3 separate regions of the Homo sapiens genome follow, and all the other regions are linked to region 3. The links are contacts of gene promoters, found by promoter capture Hi-C in blood cells and fetal thymus (Javierre and others, 2016). All regions are on one chromosome and are shown on one strand. Each heading gives the region's core, a stretch centred on a gene start or on the middle of the fragment in contact. The rest is flanking DNA. Distances are from core to core; before and after follow the strand shown.

Region 1 (4,725 bases), core at 901-3,400, 390 kb after region 3:
ATAAACGGTAATGCAATTTTAGGCTACATTAAAAGTAGGGTCTGAAATAAACCTGAGCCCCATGCCAGTGAAGAGATGGCCTCTGGCTCTGTCAGGGGAGCACATTTTAAGAGGAACTTTGGCAAACTGGACAATGTCCAGAAAAGAATAATGTGTGTGAGAAAGGCCTGGAAACCATGTCATCACGGGAGGTTTGGTAGGAGGAGGAGCATGGTAGTGATCTTCAGATATTCATGGAAGAGTCTAGGTTCATCCCTGCAGCTTGAGAGAAGGTAACTTGAACCAATGAGCAACCGGTTATGAGAAACCAGGTTTCCGCTCAAGGTCCTAGCAATCTGTGCTGCCAGCCAAGCGTGTGTGTGTGTGTGTGTGTGTGTGTGTGTGTGTGTGTACGTGTGCATTGGAGGTGGGCAAGGAGACTTCCTGGTGAAGTCCTGAGCCCACTCAGTGTCCCTGCAAATGTTCAGGCAAAAGGTGGCCAGCCAGCTATTCAGACGGGGGTTGGGGGTGGGGTGGGGATGCAGGAGGGTATAAACAAAAAAGCCAAGAGTAAGGGAAACTGGGTTCAGGTCCTGCCCCTGGTTATAGATATGTAATGATGTGCCAGTCAGTTTTCTTATTTAGGCTTCCATTTCTTCAGCTATGAGTATTGAGTCATCTTTGGTTTTCAACTTTTGGTAGCAATGGAACGTTTTTATTACATGAAATCTTCTGCAATCACCTTTCCCCTCCCTAAATATATAAGCCCAGTGTGTTATTATTGGACACACCCTGACTGTAGGTGCCAAGGCCTCCTGGCACTGCTGCGGGGCTCCTGGGAGTAGTTGGAAAGCACTGGACCAGCTGATCTTCCAGCCCTAAAATTCTATTCTTTAAGGTTTTCTCCTACCTTAGTTTTTGATTCTATAGACTCCAATCCCTCATTTTATGAAGTACCTGGTGCTTAAAAAAGGGATTTATCGAAGATCTTACAGCTGGTTAGTGACAGGGCTGTATTTAACACACAACTCCCACTCCAATTCAGTGTTCATCTCATCAGGCTGCCCCTACTTCCACCCGGGACTTGTCTTAGCACTTGTTCCTCCATGGTCCCAGGAAATCCTGTACTGCCCTCTATAGATCCTTTCCCTTTTGGAAAAGCATCAAGAAGGCAATAAATCTAGCCTGAGGCATTGCAGCCTGAGAAAATGATCTTGGAATTCATTTCTCTATGCATTAGTTTATCTCAAGGAAGTATGTTTATGAGCTGAGAAATAAAAAATAGGTGTGGCTCAGACTACTGGTTGCCCTATATGATCTCTTCTTCCTTACAACTAGGTTCCCCATCTTTTAGATGGCCACCCAGAATAGAGGTATTTCCCAGCCTCTGTTGCTGCTAGATAGGAACCTGCAATGAAGTTCTGGCCAATAGATTATAACTGGAAATACTGTGTATGCCCTAATGAAAGTATCCTTAATGGGAAGGAGAATCCCTTCTTCACTCTTTCTACCCTGATGGCTGGAATATAGGCATGGAAGGCCATAACCTTAACGGCCACCTTGGACCAGAGGGTAGAAACCATGTGTTGAGAATGATGGAACAAGCTAGTAAGGACTTCAGAAGGTGATCATATGAAGCCCCTTACCAGCCCCAGACTGTTTTCTTCCAGCATTTTACAGGAGGGAAATAAAATTCCACTGTTTAAGCCACCATTACCATTTTCATCTACTCTGTCATTGGTTGTAAGGTAGCATTACTTAGTACGTCGCTAAGAAAAAGAAACTGCTGCCAACTAAAGACAACCCATCCAATTGTATGACACATTCCAATTTCAGAGAAGTTAAAATGTGACAAAAGGATGAGTCTTACTACATGAAATGCAGTATTTTGGGTTTTTGTTACTCACAGCCAAGCCTAATCCTAACTGATTCAATAAACATGAAGGAATGAAAAGATGACAAATTCTACATAAAGAACACAATCATGAAGAGGGAAGAACAAGCTTCTCTATTAAAAAAAAAAAAAAAGACGACTCATAAAAATAGTACTGATGTGACTCAACTTAGGAAAGTTTTCTCCCATGCTTCCCAGTCTGGCTTGGATTAACCTGGGGAATTATGTCTGGCTCTCGGGACTTGGGCATCCAGTGGGATGAAGCTGCGGGATGAATGAGCTGGTTTTAAGACATAGAGGACCCAAAGCTGTTTGCTGAACCCCAGTGTAGGCTTTGGCCTTTTGCGGCTCCTACTACTTAGTTTCTTCCCCTCTTAACTCTGCAGGAACTTCCTGGTTGACTTTAAGACAGATGTGCAGCTGCTGATGACCAAGACAAGCTTGTAAGCGACAGGCTGCCCCTTAGCTGAGATCCCAAGAAGGTGCTCAAAGCTCTTCCTGCCAGCCACTGCTATTGTATAGTTTAAATCTGGTCTGGCACAAAGCTGACCATCTTTTGGTCTTCAGTACTGAAGCATTAACTTTAAGTTATGATGATCCAATATTAATGTACCTGTTATGAAATCATCAAAGACCAATACAACAACAAAAGGAAAGTCTGGCTTATCTAAAAGTGGTTATAAGATGAAATATCTGAGTCATTAAAATAAGCCACTTTCATAACGAAGGCCCACTTAATTTTAAAATGCCAAGTGACTCTATTATTATTTAGTGACCCTTTCTCCTGTGTCTGCTTCTTGAACCTACTGGGACTCCAGGAGCTTTCACGGAGTTCCCTGATGCTATGCTCTGGCTACCGCTCACTGACTGTTTACTCATGTGACAAATGTCTTATTAAATACATCCATTATTTAATACATCAACCTCATGAGGTAGGATCACTCCCATTTTTATGGATAATTCAGGCTCAGAGAAGTTGATTAATTTTCTCTTGGTAACACAGTTAACATGTGGGCTGTGAACTTAGGTTGGTGAAACTTGCCATTATAATTTAGTTGTAATGTACTATAGAAGTAGCCCTTTATGTTTCAATTACTGAAACATGAAAAATTCTGCTAAGGAATTTTCCGAGTCATCTTTTTCCACCCAAAAGGTTTGCTGGACACTAAAAACTTGTGATTATTTTGAAAGAAAGTTTCTCTGAAAAAGACCAAACTTTTTTTTTTTTTTAATAGTTAGGGAAATGGTGGGATATGGACTGGATAGGCATCTTGTCACTCCGTCACTCCAGGCCATACTTACATTACACTCAGGCAAGCGTTCCAATGGCCAGTGTAATCCCCTGGCAACACAGGAATCTGCCAATGACAGAGGTGCAGGAGTTCCACTGGCACATTCCCAGAGTGGATGAGGCCGACTGTCAGCTGACTGCCTGTTCCTGATGCAATGTCATGTGACTTTTTGCTGAAGCAATATCTAATATTCTAAAATTTTTAGACTTTTTCTGCCTACCTTCATTTCACGCTTATATATTCTTGGAAAGAAAAAAAATCCCTACAAATCCCTATTTAACCTTGCCAATACTCTGATGAAGACACATTATAATGAATCATGGGAATTTCTTTACTGATCTCATGTTCTATATAAAAACAAACAGCTCAGCTACTAAAAGTGCTGATCCAATTCTTATAGGCCAGATTCTAATTCTTCCTGGCTTCAACAAAGTAGAAGCCCTACCAAAGATTTTCTCTGGATTGAAATATGTTAATATTCAACAAAACTTCTCATTCAAACTCATTACATTTTTCCTCACATACCAAAGTACAAAGACACCAGGCTAAATTTCTTTTAAATTATTTTATTTTTGTATAAGCTAAAAGGAAATTTACACACTGAAATTTCAAAAGACCTTGGGCATGCACATTAACCTTGTTAGAGGTTCTTCTACATGTCTCTCTTTTTTCCATAGGAATTTCCCCAAACATTTAAAACCCATAGTTTTCACTGTATATACAGCCTAAACCATAGCAATCTATGATTATGTCATTTTACACTGTGCAAAATCCTCAAAAAATAGTGGTACAATAGAACAAAAAAATCAGTAACAAGTAAATTCCATTGTAAGACATTCATATAATTTGGTCCTTCTCTGAATCATACTGATTTTAAACAGACACAATCTCTTTAAACCCCTCCAATCAAGTTCTGACAATGATCCATACCCTATAACAAAAGAGCAATTAAGTACCTTGCAAAAGGTCAAACAGCAATACGCCAGATTGAAAAGATTAAAAAAGCCCCAAAATGTTAACAAAAGCCAGATCTGAAACCCATCATACACAAAATTAAAAAAAAATTAAATGGGGGACTTTGGAGCTTATTTATGATAGCAAAAGTAATTTGACATGTAATATGAAAAATCAAGAGGACAGTCAATGCAATCTGAAAAGACTGAAGGGGATTTCACAGACAGTGAAGATTTGAGTTTTTTTTTTATTTCAAAAGTTTTGTAAGAAGGACACCACCAGTGTATTTCACAAAGACATAAATGTATACACCCCAGCAACACAAAAAGAATAAATCTTCAAAAATGTTTACCCCCGATTATTTACATTTTTCTAATATAAATTTAGGACTTCAGTATGTAAATAAATATACATTACTATGTATACCTTTCTAGTGCGGCTTACCAACAAATCAGCTGAACTTGAATTTTTTTTTTTTTTTTTTTTAATTAGAGCAGGTATGCTTTTGATGGTAGGGAAGGGATGGAAAAAAGGAAAAGCAATAGAAACTGTCCAATTCACATCAGTTATCCGTCTGCTTTTTCTTGAGAGCTTGTGGAAGGTGTT
Region 2 (4,395 bases), core at 690-3,189, 330 kb after region 3:
GACAGGAATAAATACATAGTCGATGCGTAGAGGCAATGTGTGTTGTGTAGGGAGCTGGGGATGGGAGATGTTTCTGAGAAGTGACCACCAGTCTTAGTGGAGTAGTGTCCCTACAGGAGGGAACCCTGGAGTTGTCAGAGTCACCAAGAAGGTTCTTTGCATTTTGATAGACTGCACAAGGCTTTTGAAGATTCAGTGGAAAATGGAATAGGAAGGAAGCTGATGCCTAACAGAAGCCATCTTCTCCAGTAATAGTTCGAAGGGACTGACCCCAAGTGCTAGAAAAAAAGGAAATGGTTTTAAAAGCATTTTCTTTAAATATTGCCATGAAGATTGTGTTTCAGGTTTAGATTTACATATTGTCAGATTTTTAAAAGAGAAAAAGGTATATCTTTAACAGACAAGTGAAACCTCCCTCAGAAGGTAAGAAGCAGTCGTTGCAAAGCAGTTCAATGTAACAACATGGAAAGCTTTGCAAAGGGGCCTTCACTGGAGCTGTAGTTCTGCTTTTATGAATTGTGACTTCAGGGAGGAGCAGAAAAAAACCATGACAAAAGCAGGTGGAAGAAGAGATGGAGAAAAGTTTGCAGAAGTAGAGGAGTTCACTTGCTGCTTCAATAGAATTGTTTTAAATTGTTAGTGGCTGAAAAGGACTGAATCTGCCTGTGCCATCTTTGCGAGAGTATTTACTTTTCCAAATCATTGTATCCTCTATTGACTCCTTGCTAATCAGTTAGGTGATGTGACTTCCAGAACTTTATTTTGAAGACTTATTCCAATATTCATTTATCCGAATGATGAGTCCACAGTTAGGATCTCCGTATTTTCCATGAAAAGCTTATTTAGCCTAGCTGGCTCTATACAATTCATTTAATAACTGAAACATTTATCTTTTTTGCCATAAAACCAAGACCAATATTTGCAAGGTATATAGATGGATGATCATTACTGGCATTTCAGGTGGAACCTGAAAGATAAAAATTTAATAAAAGCAAAGGAAAAATGAAATTAAGTTCAAAACCTGTTGTAAAGTCTTTGTTTCTCAGTTTATATACCCAGTTTGCCCCTTGTGTTTTTGGTGTGTGCTAATTAAGTGCCAAAAGTGGCCTTCAGTTAGTGCACTAGTGTACTAGTCTATAAGATGTGAGGGCACAGAAACTTTCAAAGGAGAAGCAGTGAAGTGTAAACTAGTACCCAGAACTACAAAATGATGCCGAGAAGTACTTCTCTGAAATTAAACTCAGGAGCATTTTTAAAATTTACCATCACAGTTCTATACTTATAAAAGAAATGTTTCTTTTCTCCCTAAACAGATATGTTCCTGGTAGTTAAATGTGGATGACTAGCCTAATTTCTTATAACTGTTCTAAAGTTATGTTATATGAAAGTGAGAGGCAGATCTTCTAAATTCTGGATGAGGCCCTCAGAGTAGGATTATTTTAAATGGGATTTTGTTTTGAGACAAGATCTCACCTACATTGGAATGCAGTGGTGTGGTCATTGCTCACTGCAACCTTGAACTCCTGGGCTCAAACAATCCTCCCATCTCAGCCTCCTTAGTAGCTAAGACTATAGGCATGCATCACCATGCAGGGCTGATTTTTTCATTTTTTGTGGCGATGGGGGTGTCGCTATGTTGGCCAGAATGGTCAACTCCTGGCCTCAAGTGATCCTTCTATCTAGGCCTCCCAAATTGCTGGGATTACAGGTGTGAGCCACTGCACCCAGCCCTTAAATGGGCTTTTAAATCTCCCAAAGAGTGAGAACAAAATTTACATATTCACTAAACACTGCTTATTCAATGACATGATTTGAAATAATATTTTATTGAATAAATATTTCAAATCATGTCATTGCATACTGAAGGGAGCTGACTTCAGAAGTGTGGAAAGTGCCTTTCCTTATCCTCATAGACTTGAATTTCTAGGGCTGGGTAGAGATTGCTGTCCTGGCCTATGTGTGGCTCAGCCTTGGGGTAGGGGGTTGCATAAGGGGAGGGAGAGGGTTAACCAGCTGGTGTTAACCACATTGGCAGCTGTTGAAACTGCCAGCTCACTTTAACTTCTTGGTCAAAGATGCCAGATTCTAAAAGTGGGGGAAGTGGGAGCTATTTGTAATGTGTACATTGATAAGATGTTACAGCCTTCAGAGGTATAAAGAGATGGAAACTATTTCACTCCAAAAACGCAGGTTGCTGGTCTCGTTAAGAGCGCAAACCTTTGTTTGAGCAGGTACAGAATACAGACCTTATGGACTTCAGCAGAATCCTGTCTATCCTAGTGACACAAAATTGTCACTTTGACTTAAATCCTGTTATTTTATACAGAAACACTGCATTTGGTGTAATCTATTTGCTAGAAAATATCCAAGTGTCACAAAAGTTCTGCAAGTGTAACTTCCTGCTTACTTTAATTCAAGAATAGCAGTTTAAATTCACAAATAGCAGTTTAAATTCACCTTAAATTCAACAGAGCTAATGCCTCTGGCCTCCTCTACAAAGATATCACAGGAAGAGATTATTGCAGCTTCTATTTCAATGGCTTTTCCTTAAAGTGAGCACTGAAAGTATAAGTGAGTGGGTGGTTAGGAAACTGTTAGTAGTTAATGCCCTCTCTAAACTGCAGAACTCTGGAAATGAAAAATATCTTCGCTTCACAGCAAAATGTTTGAATGTTATGCCACTCAGGCGCAAACTGAGCAAGACCTGCAGAGGGCCGGTGAGCACAGCTTCCATAATATGTCATTTTGAATGCCATTATAATGAGACTTTGCAAAGATATCCACAAATAATTAGCTTTTGGCTTAGGTTATACTGTATAAGACTTTAATTATACTGAGGGTCCAGTAAAAACCTTTTCCATCCTCCTTAAAGATAAAACAAGAAGCGTTGTCTCCTCTATCAACATTTCAGCACAAGTTTAATTTCGATGAGATCATCAATTTGATTGATAACAAATCATTACAGAACAGTTTAAACAAGTCTAAATTTCTCTTGATGTTAACGACTTACAATCGCCTTTATGTTAGGTCTTAAAGCTTTATTATTCTTAAATACAACTAGTATAGTGGACCATTAAACTCCAAAGTGATCTGAAATGATATTGATTGGGGTGGCAGCCAAAATTTTAAGGTGCCTGCCTGCATTGCCTTTTACATCTTGACGCTGAATGCACGTGTAATTTTTAAAATAATCATTAATTTTCCAGTGGAACCATCTATCTGGCCTCTTTCCCTAGTGCTCTTAAATTCTCACCATTTGGGCATACACACATTCTCTTCCAACTAGTATAAATTTCCCTGGTAAATTTAAGTAGTTCCAAGCATAAGCTTACTCCACGGGAGGGAAAGGCTATCAATGTGAAACTTGTGGGCAGAGGACTGCGCCTCCGACCTGGCTGCGTCTCCTAGCTTGGCTTCCCTCCTGCCGGGTCTGCACCGAGCCCCGGCCGGCCCCGAAGGATGCAACTCGTTCGGTCCGGCTCCCAAAGTGCCGTGGACTTGGTGACCCACTTCTCGTGTCGGGCTGAGGCCACGCGGGCAAGGGACTTTTTCTGTCCCCGGCTCACGGCTGGAGCCCCCATCCTGCCGTTCGGACCAGTGCGGGCCTCGGAGGAGTGTCCCGCAGCGGACCCCCGCCCAGGAACCCCTGCAGGCAGCGAGACGGGCGCCCGGGCCAGCTCTCTGCCCCTCGCCCCCCGCGGGGACCCTGCCCGCCCCGCTGACCGGCCCCACGTTGCCAAATAGCTCAAATGCTTGTCATATTTGCGGTCGCGCGGCTCCGCGGGCTGTGCACGCGCTGCACTCGCCGCCGCCTTTGTCACCAGCCGCTTCGTCATTCGCCTGAGCACTTCTAGAGTGTGTAGGGGGCGTTACTAGTGGCAGTGGTGGTCCTCGGGCCGGAGTGTCTCCTTCTGTCTCCCCTCCTCTTTCAGCCCGTCCTTACGAGAAAATCAGGGGCGCGCCGGCCCGGCAGGGAGCTGGGGGCGGCGCTGCCACCAGGCGCCCACTGCGCCCCGCCGCCCCTTCCTGCTCCTCCTGCGGCCGCGGCCGGCCGCGGCCGGCCCCGGCCTTTATCGCGCCTCCCGGGACCGCCGGGGAGAGGCGGGCCGGGGCGGGGCCGGCGGGGGCGGGGTCGGGCGGCCAGGGGCGGGGCCTGCGGCGCCGGGGCCCGGAGCTCGCGGGAGGCTCGCGGGCCGCACGTCACTCCTGCACGGCGAGTGCTGGAGCACGACGTACCGCTCGCTCGGTCAGGGCGCCCCCTCCGCCCGCCTCCTGCTTCCTCCTCCGCTGCCTGCCGCCGCCGCCTCCACCATTGTATAATGCTCGGGGCGCGCAGGCAGAGAACGGCGGAGTCTTAGCTTCAGCCTCGCCTGCTGCCCGCTCCCCGGCGCCACC
Region 3 (4,933 bases), core at 1,351-3,850:
TATCAAGCTGCCAGTCACAGAACAAAGGCTGTGATCTAGACCAGCCTGGGCAGCATAGTGAAACCCCATCTCTAAAAAAATTTAAAACAGTTAGCTGGGGCCAGGCAGGGTGGCTCACACCTGTAATCCCAGCACTTTGGGAGGCCGAGGCGGGTGGCTCACGAGGTCAGGAGATCAAGACCATCCTGGCTAACATGGTGAAACCCCGTCTCTACTAAAAAATACAAAAAATTAGCCGGGCGTGGTGGCACGCGCCTGTAATCCCAGCTACTCGGGAGGCTGAGGCAGGAGAATGGCGTGAACCCAGGAGGCGGAGCTTGCAGTGAGCCGAGATCGCACACTGCACTCCAGCCTGGGTGACAGAGCGAGACTCCGTCTCAAAAAACAAACAAACAAACAAACAAAAAGCTGGGTGTGGTGGTGTGCACCTGTAATCTCAGCTACTCTGGAGACTGAGGCAGGAGGATCGCTGAAGCCTAGGAGTTCGGGGATGCAGTGAGCTAGGATCCCAACACTGCACTCCAGTCTGGGCAAAAGAGCAAGACCCAGACTTTAAAAAAAAAAAAAAAAAAAAAAAGCTGTGATCCCCTTAAAAGTCCTAATAGGCCACCACTATCTGCCCTTTTGGCAAGAACTTTTGGTCTCCCTCATGAGTGGTTTTTTTTTGTTGTTGTTTGTTTGTTTTTAAATACGGATGTCCTAGATTTTTGTTGTTTTAAGTGAACAATCTCTCTCTTAAGTGCAGACAGCCATCACATTTTCCAGAAGGAGAAATGGAAACAGTTGGAAAGGCAAGTCACTTTGCCCAGGGTTTGCTGTTTTTCACAACCTCAGCAATGAGGAGCTTTGCCTCAATAACTCAAGACAAAATATATTAATAACTCCAAGGCTCAGAATCCAAAATCATCAGAAATCTGGAGAAGGAGCCAGCTGGACTCCTCACTCAACTGAACCTGGTTAGATCAGTAAATGCCTCCGGGCTGCAGTTTCCCCATTTGTGAACTTTGGGCTAATGGAGAAACCAGGAGAGACCAAGGTTTTGGATAAGTCACAGAAAGGATACTACATCATCTCAAAGGATGAAATGCAACTTCTAAGAATTGCAAAAAGCAGGCAAAACTAAGTGAAGATGCTTCTCTCCCTCCCCTCTAGAACTCACACTTTCGCACAAAGAAAGGCCTTTGAAACACAGCACTCTGCCGTGGTCTTTACTGGGGTGGACAGCAACCTGTCCCAAGCCCCAAGCCCTCAGGAGAGGCATATTTCTGGGCAATATGTCTCACTCAACTAACCCCAGCCCTATTATCCGTGGGTCCACTGATAACTGCAGAAAATTGCCAGCTTCCTTCGCAGCCAAGGACTGTAACAGAGAAGGCCATAGATTGCAAGCCGGATGACCCAAGAGGCAAAACTTAACCAATGCTCCCAGAAGCTTTTAGGCACCATGTGGGAGAAAATGAGGCGAAGCCACTGGGGCGTGGTCGGAACATTTTTACCGGGGAGAGCAGCGCGAGAGTATAAGGAGTAAAGAACAGGCGGGGCGGCTGGCTCTTCCCTAACAAACGCCCACCTAACGGTGGGGACTGGTTCTTGCTCAAAGATGCGGCCCTGCTCTTTCGATTGTGCGGTGCGCCCCAGCTGTTTGCAAAGGTGTGGTCAGCACGCAAAAACTCCAGACGTCATTTTGATATTTTTAAAACGTTAAACGCCACCAGCAGCCAGCTAAGAATTAACTCTTAGGAGTGTATAAGCATATGGGTGTATGAACTGGAGGGCATCCGAGAACTGGCGTCTCCCACTGGGCCCTGGGAGAGGTGGAGAGTGTTACCTGGCCAGGTCGAGGAAAGAGTCCACCGTCTCTTTGGGGACAGGAGGAGGCCCCGAGTCCTCCAGCCCCAGGTCGCTGGACTGAAGGGTCTGCGCACCGGATCCTGGCTTGATGATGAACGCCAAGGCCACGGCGAGCGCCGAGGCACTCAGTGTGGTGAGGCCAAAGTAGGCGACAGCGATGCCGCCCAGACGCCCGAGGCAGCTGGCATCGAGCGAGGCGGCGCCCGACACCAGGCTGCAGACCACCAGCGGCAGGATGATCATGCGCAGCATGCGGAGCAGCATCTCGCCGGGGAAGGCCAGGTAGGTGACCTGCGTGCGGCTCAGGCTGAGCCCGCGCAACGCCGCGCCCAGGCCCGCGCCCGCCAGCACCCCGGACACGGTGAGCAGCACCAGCGCTTGGCGCCGCAGGAAGCCCGCGCAACGCCGTGCGCGTCCCGCCGCGGTCCCCGGAGCTCCGGGCCCGGCCGCAGGCCCCGCCTGAGCGCTGTCAAGGTAGCCGTTGGTCTCGTTGCTCTTCTCCATGGCGCTACACGCCGCTCCGAGCTAGAGGTGGCAGGGGACGTGGGCTCTGGCAAAAGACGGGGTTCCCAATGAATGGGTCGGTCGGCCAGTTGTGCTCCGCAGGTTCTGGGAAGCCGCCCCGGGGGTCTCCGGGCCTGGCGCAGGAGCAGGTGCGAGAAAGGCGAGGAGAGGCGCAGAGTGCGGGTTGGAGCCGCGGGCGGAGAGGATCGCGCCCAGCCTCCCTGGAGCAGCCGCCGGCTGGAGATGATGCAAACGGGAGCCGCGAACGCGGACGCAGACGGGGAAGTAGGAGGGCGCGCCAGCGGCCCCAGCCCGCTCACTTCACGCCCGCCGTCCCGCCCCCTGTGGCGCTGGCCAATCACAGCCCGGGAGCCGCCGCCGGGAGCCGCCGCCGGGAGCCTCTGGTCCCCACCCGTGTCGCGGGTGCCGCAGGGGGCGGCCGGGCGGGAGGCTCCACCCGAGGCCGCGGGGGCGCGGGCGGCGCCGGCCAATCCTGGCGCCAATAGCCGCCTACCCGCCCGGCTAACGGAGGCCGGCTCCGGGCGACCGCGGGGAAGTGCGGGCTGAAGGACCGCCCGGGCTCCTTGGCACCTGCCGGGCCCTCTCCCGCGGCCGGGATCTGAGTCCTCGGGGCCAGAGGGCCCGGGAGAACTTAGAACGCAGCGGCGTTCCTCCTCCTGAGGACTGTGGGAGGGGAGGGAGGGGAGGGGAGAAGAGAGGAGGAGAGGGGAGGATCCCTCTCTCCCGGGTGGCGCTTTCGCCCCGCGCGGCCCGCGCTCCTCTCCAGAGCTCGCCGGCCTCTCCCGCCAGGGGGCCGGGCGCGGTGAGGGGGCCCGGGGCGGTCCTGCCGTCGCGTCCCCTCCTGCGGAAGATCCCTTCTTCCAGGGGTCCTCAGGGGCTTGTGCGGTAAAGCACGCCATGGTGCCCAGCAAGGCCCCGGCCTTGAGACAAAGGACGGACCGGAGGATGGATGAATAAGGGGAGCCTTCGCACGCGCTCATTAGGGCTCTAACGCAGCCATACCGCTAGAGAAAGGGGGCTCGCTGTGCCACCAAACCCGGCGCCCCTGGGCCGCGGAACCGCGCGCACCGGGGCGCTCCTGGGCTTGTGTCCTGGGGCCATCAGGATGGGGCTGGGTCGCCCGCCAGGCAGCTGTCTGCGGTATGGGCGTTTAAGACGCAAAGCTCTTCTAGAAGAAACAGAGCTCTCACGCCACCACTTCCAGTTGGTTTCTGCCACGTAACCAAAGCTGAAACACAAGCCACTGGATTTTAACCTCTTCCGTTCCCAGGCCTGAGCCCTGGCGAGAAAACAGCGCAGACGGCGGTTTGGCCATCCTGAACGGTTCCTTATTGTTCACGTTCTATGGATTTCCTGTTTATTTCATCTTTTATTTGATATCTGCTTTGGCCACGCGAGTTACAAGGGAAACTTCTGCTGAGTCTTTTTACTGTATCACAGTTATTATATTTTTATATTTTTTTATTCTGCTTGTGAATTGTTCTTTAAAGACTTCCGTGGGTGGTCTTTTGTTTTTTCTTTTTCCTTCCTTCCTTCCTTCCTTCCTTCCTTCCTTCCTTCCTTCCTTCCTCCCCCCCTCCCTCCCTCCCTCCCTTCCTTCCTTCTTTCCTTCTTTCCCTTTCTTTCCTTTCTTTCCTCTCTTTCTGGGACAAGGTCTCGCTATGTTGCCCAGGCTGGTCTCCCAGTTCCTGGGCTTATGGGATCCTCCTTGGTAGCTGGCACCACCCACTGTGCCAGGCAAGGGAAGACTTAATTGTGGCTAACCTCAATTAAGGAGGAAGGCAATTTACTATAGATTTCTTGCTATAAAGGAGTCATCTTAAAACATGTCATGACATATTTGTGCAAATCAAAATGCCTTCATAAGGAACTTTAAGGAGCTGTCCAAATTTTGAGACAGTGAGTATTTTATTGCTTGGAGCCAGCCAGCTATTGGCTAGAACTTGTAAGGATTGTGTGTGGGGGGGGGGGGGGTGGGCGGGGGAGGTAGTGTCAGATGAAGAGCTGCACATATTTATATCTGGCTTTCCAGAATGCAGTTCATTTCTCTATGTGCACTGAAGAAAGAGTAATTCCTACAGACACACACTGTGTTTTGCCAATCAGCCCTTCCCTTTGTTTTGACTACCACGTTTATGCAAAAGACTCTCAAATCATGCTCCAGAAATGAGTCTTCGGCTGCCTGTTTTACATCTTCACCTGAATATCCTGCAGGCGTCCCAACTAAAATGTTCAAAACCAAACTCATGGTTGCCTTCCTCAAACCTGCTCATCCCTTCGGTTAAAACATAATTGATGACCCAGTCACCTCTGTGTGAAACTTCAAAGCGAACTTTGATTCTTCCCTCTGTGGTGCCTTCTCTCATCTAATGAATTGCCAAGTCCCACAGAGATTCCTTTCACAATATTTATCACATCTGCCCATCCCATCTATTCCCACTGCTACCACACTGGCTCAGTTCTTATTTCCTCACTTCTTATCTGGGCTATTGAAATGTTCTCCCAATTAGTCTTCCCACCTCCAATGCTCCTCTTGTTCCAACCATCCTGTATTTTG

The links. The method cuts DNA at HindIII sites, captures the fragments that hold promoters and counts their contacts. A CHiCAGO score of 5 or more calls a contact.
Region 1: a fragment that was not itself captured here is called in contact with the fragment with the promoter of SLC1A4 in region 3 in 1 of 17 cell types (total B cells); the score reaches 6.2 in total B cells.
Region 2: a fragment that was not itself captured here is called in contact with the fragment with the promoter of SLC1A4 in region 3 in 1 of 17 cell types (fetal thymus); the score reaches 5.5 in fetal thymus.

The regions. Positions count from the first base shown.
Region 1 is chr2:64,591,996-64,596,720 of GRCh38, reverse strand. The region is part of intron 3 of LOC105374773 (a long non-coding RNA gene); the gene reads left to right. It overlaps AFTPH (aftiphilin), which reads right to left. Exons shown (of 10, transcript NM_203437.4): 10 at 3,716-4,725. The coding sequence ends at 4,686. Among named protein-coding and RNA genes, the nearest start is that of LINC02579, 13 kb to the left of the region's middle. The HindIII fragment of the contact is 331 bases long and covers 1,985-2,315 here.
Region 2 is chr2:64,653,721-64,658,115 of GRCh38, reverse strand. It overlaps LOC124907776, which reads right to left and starts at 4,045. Exons shown (of 1, transcript XM_047446580.1): 1 at 2,893-4,045. The coding sequence starts at 3,836. The coding sequence ends at 3,405. It overlaps SERTAD2 (SERTA domain containing 2), which reads left to right and starts at 4,203. Exons shown (of 2, transcript NM_014755.3): 1 at 4,203-4,395. RefSeq lists an enhancer at 2,629-2,788 and silencers at 3,570-4,389, 4,127-4,395. The HindIII fragment of the contact is 2,199 bases long and covers 840-3,038 here.
Region 3 is chr2:64,987,066-64,991,998 of GRCh38, reverse strand. It overlaps SLC1A4 (solute carrier family 1 member 4), which reads right to left and starts at 2,600. Exons shown (of 8, transcript NM_003038.5): 1 at 1,829-2,600. The coding sequence starts at 2,355. RefSeq lists silencers at 2,201-2,380, 2,591-3,290 and an enhancer at 2,014-2,598. The HindIII fragment of the contact is 3,825 bases long and covers 1,435-4,933 here.